Regions from separate parts of the Homo sapiens genome. Here region 1 is linked to region 2. The links are contacts of gene promoters, found by promoter capture Hi-C in human tissues and cell types (Jung and others, 2019). All regions are on one chromosome and are shown on one strand. The core of a region is centred on a gene start or on the middle of the fragment in contact, and the rest is flanking DNA. Distances in the headings are between cores, read along the strand shown. Region 1 holds the start of KRT1 (keratin 1). Region 2 has its middle 21 kb from the start of EIF4B.

Region 1 (4,279 bases), core at 1,058-3,557, 310 kb before region 2:
AATTGGAGACCCTCTTCCCTTATTTATTTCAAATGTGAGTTCCGTCCTACAGAATTTGCTTACCTTCTTGATGGTCACAAATTCATTCTCTGCATTTGTCCGCTTGTTGATTTCATCCTCATACCTGCAGGAAAGCAGAAACAATTAGGAGATTCAGAGGTGGTAAGACCTGAAGTCCAGCATTCTAAACTAAAGGTGGCATTGCCTATCACTGCCTTTCTATTATGAACCTAGGACATATTGGCCACTACTTTCTACTGAGCAATAAAACCACTAGACTATTTCCATCTCCTGAGAAAATGAAGATTTCTGAAAATGTCAAACTGATGTGCCTCTAACCTAAGAAAAGACATAGCTACATGCTGCTTCATGATCTTAGCTTATTACTTTCTGGAACTCTTTTACAGCAAAAGTTAAGAACTGCCCAGACAGGGTCCCTTACTTGTTCCGGTAATCCTCCACCATGTCCTGCATGTTCTTCAGTTCCGAATCCAACCGAGATTGATCACTCTTCAGTTGGTCCACTCTCCTTCGGAGATTGTTGATGAATGACTCAAAGTAGGGCTCTAAATTATGGGTTCTAGTGGAGGTATCTACCTGCTGCAGCAGCTCCCATTTTGTTTGCAGTACCTGGTTCTGCTGCTCCAGGAACCTCACCTAAAAACACAAGACCCCTTTACTCCTGATGCATAAATGGAGTCTCATAGCCATGGAGAACTGTGCCTCATTTGGAAAAGAACCTCAATTCCTATCTTCTGACCATGACAGAGAAATAGGAAGAAGATGATCAAGTTAATATCATCTGCATAATAAAACCCAACTTGTTAATTCAGAGAGGGCTTGGAAGGGAGTAACTAAACAAATACCAATAGCAAAGCGCATACAGAATTATTGCAATTATGTTTTGAAATAGGTGCATGGTATTTAAGAGATTTGCCTTCCAAAATTTTGTTAGGTATATTACCATAAAAACTGGTTTGCATCCCCAGGACACACACACATTTCAAAAGTATATCAGGAAAATTCAAAATTGGATTTGAAATTTGTTGTGGATAACCTTGGATTGGCACTATTAATGATTAAGCAAAAAATTAAAAAAATGGTTTATCTGAGTTTTTTAGAGCTGATTTTTGGAGATATTAGTATAAAAAAACTCTAGCCTCATCCAGTACCAATGTAAAATTATTAGAAGGCAGAGCTCCCCTCTGACAGCAAAAGATGTTTGGCACTGACTGACCACATGTTTTCTGCTACAATAACACTCTATACTATGTTCACACTCAACTCCCTTTCTATGGTTAGGAAGACCTTTCCAGGGTTCTCACTTGCACCCTGGAAAGTTCAGTTAGCCCCATTTCTATTATCTTCATTCAACAGATATGAGTCCCAATTCCGCTCAAGAGCTGAATAAAAAGCACTTAAATGTTAATGTCACACTGACCCACCTTTAGGTCGACCACGAACCCTTTGTCAAAGAGAGAGTCATTAACACCATTCACAAGCATACATCTAACATATCTCCTAGGAGACCATTCCACAAAACATCCTTTTAATCATGTAAACATGGAAACTTGAGGTTCAAACCTACTGTGTTTTGACTGCACCAATCCCAAGTGGACCAGCGGCAGCCCTACCAGTGCAATGAGAGAGAAACTCACCTTGTCAATGAAGGAGGCAAATTGGTTGTTGAGTGACTTGATTTGCTCCCTTTCTCGAGACTTCACCTTTTGGATCTCAGGGTCAATCTCCACATTGAGGGGCTGAAGAAGGCTCTGGTTGATAGTGACTTCTTGTATGCCACCAGGAGGGCAGACAGGACCATAACCACCCCCATATCCACCACCCCCAAAGCCACCTCCACCAAAACCACCACCACCACTGCCAAAACCACCAAAGCCACCACCCCCAATGCCACCTCCACCAAAGCCACCACCACCAAAGCCACCACCACCAAAGCCACCACCACCATAACCACCACCAAAGCCACTACCACGTCCACCTCCTCTAGCCACACTTATGGAGATGCTTTTACTGCCACCAAGGTTAACAAGACTCCGACTTCCAAATCCACCACCAGCACCAAAGCTACCACCACCACCACCACAGCTTGAAAATCTCCCACCACCTCCTCCACTGCGGCGTGTGGAGCTGCTGGTGGTCCTGCGCTGGTAGTTGATGATCCCAGCAGAGCCAGAGCTGAAGCCCCCTCCACTTCGGTACCCAGACCTGGAACTAAACTGTCGACTCATGTTGACTTAGAGAAAAGTAGGAGCAAGGTAGAGTAAGGGAAGGAGCTAAACACTCCTCTACCCCAAGCATAGAGACTTCCCCTTATATACAGGGAAGAAATTGGGCTTGGTCTTCTAGAGTCAGCGGAGATGCAGTGCCTGTCAAGGGTTTGGCTTGCCTGCAGCCATACAAGATTTTTACGAGCCTCAACAATACGATAAACACTACACACCTAGCTCCCAGGATGGGCTCTCAAAATTGCTGTGCATGCAAGATTGGTTCATGTGGTAATTATTTTATCACACAAGATCTTCCTTCAAGCATTTGTGGCTTTGGGAAAACAGGACCCCACATCTGATACCTGGTGTTTCTTGGTAGGATTTCATAACCCCCATCAAAAAGGCATGAAAGTTTCTATTCTCACCTTGCCTTTGTGAGCTACCAAGCACACTCTCTTACCATGCACAGCAGGTGCAATTCCCCGTGCTTGGATCTCAGAAGGAGCTCTCTGGCCCATTTCTAAGATCTTCTTTCCAAACTCCAGAGCTCACTCAGTTACAACCTGACAAAGAGAAAGGGCTTTAATAACTAAAAAATTAAAAGGTCTTTCATAAATATAAGCTTTATAAATATACCACAGTGATTAATTAAAGGAAGAGAAGCTGTCATTGAACAAGATGGATGAGTGGGTGGTCTGGAAGAACCAGAAGGGAGAGACATTTTTTTTCTCTGTTTCTCAGTTATTCCTTTTCTTGTTTCTTTTCTTCAAAGATAGAGCAGGAGACAGACACCAGCAATAGAAAACAGGTAGCAATGGATAGCATGCAAACGCCCTTGAGTGAAAAAGCCCACAGAGCAGTGAGACGAGTAAATAGAAGCTCTAGGACATTTTGTAAAGCACAGGGGTGGAGGTGAGGCTTGATAGGTGATTCAAGCCTCACACTGGACTGCAAAGAGAGAGAGATAAATGCAGATTTGGAAGGGAAGACAATGAGAGGTGTCTGGAGAGCCTTATATGAGAAGTTTAAATTGTTTCTGGAGGTGATAATAATGATAATACCTAACATGTATCAAAAACTGACCATGTACCAGGCACTGTTCTACGTAGCACATATGTATTAACTTGCTTAATTTTCACAACTTTGAGATAGATGCTATTTTTCTCCCCATTTGTAAAATGAGGAAGCAGAGACACAGGGGTTGAATAACGTGATCAAGTCTACACAGTTGGTAAGTGGGGTGCCTGCGATTTGAAGCAAGAATACCTAGCTATCATGTGCAAGATCCTAAACAGCATGTTGTACGACAGCACAGCAGCCGAATTCAAGTCATTCTGCCTGCTGTGTGTAAAGCCAGACAGCACAGGAAGCGCCCCACCACAGAGAGCTCTGAGGGCAGAAGGCCTGTTTTATCACTCTGAGTCCTTGGCTCCTGGCACATGCAAGTCTTGGAAAATGTTTCTTCAATTCACACTGAGAAGGAGATTTTGGTGGCACAGAGTTTAGTGAGGAGATTTTACTTCCATCCAAGTGCAAGAGTACCCAGCATGCATTGCAATGGACCAGGAAACCTCAGGGGTCTTCCTGGAGAGCAGCACTTGATCAATATCAGTGGATAATAGTGGCACTGAGATCTGGACACACTAGAAGCCCAAGCAGACTTTCATTCGAAGACTTCTTAGAAGCCTGGCATGGTCCCCGGGCCTGCACATAAACACAGAATTGAAGACTCAAAGGGGAGAAGCCAGCTCTAACTTCAGCTGGCTCCAAGTAACTCTGTAAGTGGCAAACCATAGATGTACATGGGAAGTCTCCACTATGGTGTGCAAGATCTATGGGAGAAAGGGAGTCTGTGAAGATCATCTGGTCCCATTACTCTGTGGCTCTGAATCGGGCTGGCTGTGTCGGTCCTCTCCATTGCACTCCGCTATTGAACCTTGTCCCTCTTCTCCTCCCAGTTTTTGCCCTATACCCTCCTCCAGAAAGTGCCCCTCACCGCTCCCCTGCTACTCCTCTCCCTCGCCATCACTGTGGCACTGCTGTCTGGGACT
Region 2 (3,821 bases), core at 308-2,807:
ATATACAATGAAAAGAAAGTCTTCCTCCTACCCAGCACCCAGCCCCACAACCCACTCCAGAGGCAACCATTATTTACAGTTTTTCAACGTATAGGTGGATATCATTTTAACCTAATTTTACAAATGAGGAAACTGAGGCTTAGAGAGGTTGAGTGGCTGTCCTGAGATCACGGGCCTGATGGAGCTAACAGAGATGATATCAGATCTTGTCCTTGACACTGCATTGCCACCCTAACATCATCCTGCTTCACACATACATCCTGGGTATGCATCCTGGACTGAGAGTCCTCAGAGGGCAGGAGTTGCCCATGGAACCTGCTAGGGGCAGTAGTCAGCACTGGGCCACTGGGTGCTACAGCAGGAGGCCTGGGATCTGCACCATGATTAAGCTGCTGTGTGATGTTGAGCAAATCTCTTGATTTCCTCACTTGCCTTTCTTTCTCACTAGGCTATATTGAGATTTAAACAAGCCAAGTAGAAAGATGATTGGAGAGTAAAGATGTCATACAGATTCAAGGAGGGGTGAGGACAGATATTTAGTATAGGGTTAACTTTGTACTTTCCTTGGAGCACACGTGTCCATGTTCAGATACTTTACAGATACTTTAACTTGAGCACATGCGTCCTTGTTCAGTTCCTTGAAAAGTGTTGCTTGTTCACTGCCTTTCTTCTTTTTTTTTTTTTTTTTTTTTTGAGACAGAGTCTTGCTCTGTCACCCAGGGTGGAGTGCAGTGGCGCGACCTCAGCTCACTGCAACCTCCACCTCCTGGGTTCAAGTGATTCTCCTGCCTCAGCCTCCCAAGTAGCTGGGACTGTAGGCACGTGCCACCACACCCAGCTATTTTTTGTATTTTTAGTAGAGACGGGGGTTTTACCGTGTTAGCCAGGGTGGTCTCAATCTCCTGACCTCGTGATCCACCCGCCTCAGTCTCCCAAAGTGCTGGGATTACAGGCGTGAGCCACCGCGCCCAGTGCCTTTCTTTCTTTTTTTAGACAGGGTCTCGCTCTGTCACCCTTGCTGTAGTGCAGTGGCACAGTCACCACTCACTGCACACTTGACATCCCAGGGCCAAATGATCCTCCCACCTCAGCCTCCTGAGTAGCTGAGACTACAGGTGTGCACCACCACACCAAACTAATTTTTTATTTTTTGTAGACATGGAATCTCACCATATTTCCCAGGCTGGTCTCAAACTCCTGGGCTCAAGGGATCCTCCCCCTTGGCCTCCCAAAGCACCGGGACCACAGGCACATGCCACCATGCCTAGCTAATTTGTTTTTGTTCGTTGGTTGGTTTCTGTAGAGATTGGGATCTCACTATGGCTGGTCTCAAATTCCTGAGTTCAAACCATACTCCTGCCTTGGCCTCCAAAAGCACTGGGACTACAGGTGTGAACCACTGTGCCCGGCCTTCTGCCTCTCTTCTTTTTTGTGTGTGTATCGGGGTTTCGCTCTTGTTGCCCAAGCTGGAGTGCAATGGTACGATCTCAGCTTACTGCAACCTCGCCTCCCAGGTTCAAGCAATTCCCTGCCTCAGCCTCCCAAGTAGCTGGGATTACAGGCATGCACCACCATGCCCGGCTAATTTTATATTTTTAGTATAGACAGGGTTTCACCATGTTGGCCAGGCTGGTCTCGAACTCCTGACCTCAGGTAATCCACCCGCCTCGGCCTCCCAAAGTGCTGGGATTACAGGTGTGAACCACCGTGACTGGCCTTCTGCCTCTCTTCTTTGGAAGAGGGTTGACTTCCATTTCTCTACAAGCTTCAAGCCCAGTACAGGTAATAAGCCCATCAAATTGGCTGCACAACCACCTAGAAGGTTTGGGGCCAAGCCACATACTCAAGTAATGACACTTCTTTCAGGGAGCAGCACAGGGCTCCCAACCCATTTGGGACACAGGACAGCCGAGGCAGAAAATTCAATCGTGGTAGACAGTGTATCTCTCCAAAGAAGAAACACTTGTCTTCTGCCTCCAGCTGACATTCTGTGACTGCACAGACAGCACTATGTCAATTTAGCTATTACTACATAAAAAACCACTCCAAGACTTAGAGGCTTAAAACAATAATTAGCTCACAACTCTGCAATTTTAGCTGGGCTCAGCTGAGCAGTTCTGTTCATCTCACTTTGAGTTGCTTAAGTGGCTACAGTCATATGGATCAGGATGGTCTATGATGGCCTCACTCACATAACTGGCAGTTAGCTGGGATTCTCAGCCAAAGCACCTCACTTCTCCTGCCTGTGGCTCTCCAGCAGAATAGCCTGGGTTCCTTGCCTGGTATCAGCAGGTTCCAAGAGAGTAAAAGTGGAAGTCACAAAATCTTCCAAAGTCTAGGCTCCAGAAGTCACATATTGTCACTTCTGACACATTTGTTAGCCAAAGCAAGTCACAAGGCAATGCCAAATTCAAAAAGTAGGAAATAGACTCTACCTTTTGATGAAGGCACTGCAAAATATTTTGGTCATGCTTTTCAATCCATCACACACTTTCTAATCCATCATTCAATAATTCTCCAATCAAGCAGCCTGTACTTATTGAATACCTAACATACCTAATACCTAAATATTGTGCTAGATGGCAAAATACAAAAGAATGCTAAGACCAAGTCTTTGCTGGAAAAATTTTAAAAGATCTTAAAATGAGCTAAAGATTACTGGGTACCTTTTTAGTGGAATGCTGGGCTTTGTATAGAGAACTTTCAGTGTTATTTGATTTTGTAGTGGTCTGTGTCTTTGTGTTTTTTTGTTGTTTCTTTCTCATTTTATAAAAATAGTTTGTTTCAAAGACTCAATTGTCCTTCAACTTCTTTTTTTTTTTTCTTTTTTCTTTTTCAGACGGAGTTTTACTCTTGTTACCCAGGCTGCAGTGCAATGGCGTGGTCTAGGCTCACTGCAACCTCCACCTCCCAGGTTCAAGAGATTCTCCTGCCTCAGCCTCCCAAGTAGCTGGGATTACAGGCGCCCATCACCATGCCTGGCTAATTTTTGTATTTTTAGTAGAGACAGGGTTTCACCATGTTGGCCAGGCTGGTCTCGAACTCCTGACCTCAGGTGATCTGCTCACCTTGGCCTCCCAAAGTACTAGGATTACAGGCATGAGCCACTGCACCCAGCCCCTTCAACTTCTTATTTTTGGATATACCAAGAATATAATCAATGTGCTCAATATAATTTTTGACTGCTTTTGACTAGACTCTTATAGCTCTGTAAGTTTAAAAAAAAAAAAAACTGATGGTAGGCCAGGTGCAGTGGCTCATGCCTATAATCCCAGCATTTTGGGAGGCTGAGGCGGGTGGATCACCTGAGGTCAGGAGTTCAAGACCAGCCTGGCCAACATGGTGAAACCCCATCTCTACTAAAAATACAAAAATTAGCTGGGCGTGGAGATGCACAGCTGTAACCCCACTTACTCAGGAGGCTGAGGCAGGAGAATCGCTTGAACCCAGCAGGCAGAGGGTGCAGTGAGCCAAGATTGCACCACTGCACTCTAGCCTGGGCGACAGAGCAAGACTCTGTCTCAAATTAAAAAAAAAAAAAAAAATTAGCTGGGCATGGTGGCAGATGCCTGTAATCCCAGCTACTTGGGAGGCTGAAGCAGGAGAGTTGCTTGAACCCGGGAGGCGGAGGTTGTAGTGAGCCGAGATCGTGCCCCTACACTCCAGTCTGGGTGACAGAGTGAGACTCCATCTCAGGAAAAAAAAAAAAAAAAAAAAAAAGAAAGAGAAGAAAGAAAGGGAGGAAGGAAGGAAAGAAAAAGGGAAAGAAAAAAAGAAAGAAAGAAATGTTTGTAGGTTGGGCGCAGTGGCTCACGCCTGTA

The links. The method cuts DNA at HindIII sites, captures the fragments that hold promoters and counts their contacts. A contact is called where the count stands out against the background at its distance.
Region 1: the fragment with the promoter of KRT1 here is called in contact with a fragment that was not itself captured in region 2 in 3 of the 25 tissues and cell types used here (aorta, mesendoderm cells and pancreas).

Annotation. Positions count from the first base shown.
Region 1 is chr12:52,678,100-52,682,378 of GRCh38, forward strand. KRT1 (keratin 1) reads right to left here and starts at 2,308. Exons shown (of 9, transcript NM_006121.4): 1 at 1,659-2,308; 2 at 443-657; 3 at 64-124. The coding sequence starts at 2,249. The HindIII fragment of the contact is 20,482 bases long and covers 1-4,279 here.
Region 2 is chr12:52,983,990-52,987,810 of GRCh38, forward strand. No RefSeq gene overlaps it. Among named protein-coding and RNA genes, the nearest start is that of EIF4B, 21 kb to the right of the region's middle. The HindIII fragment of the contact is 7,503 bases long and covers 1-3,821 here.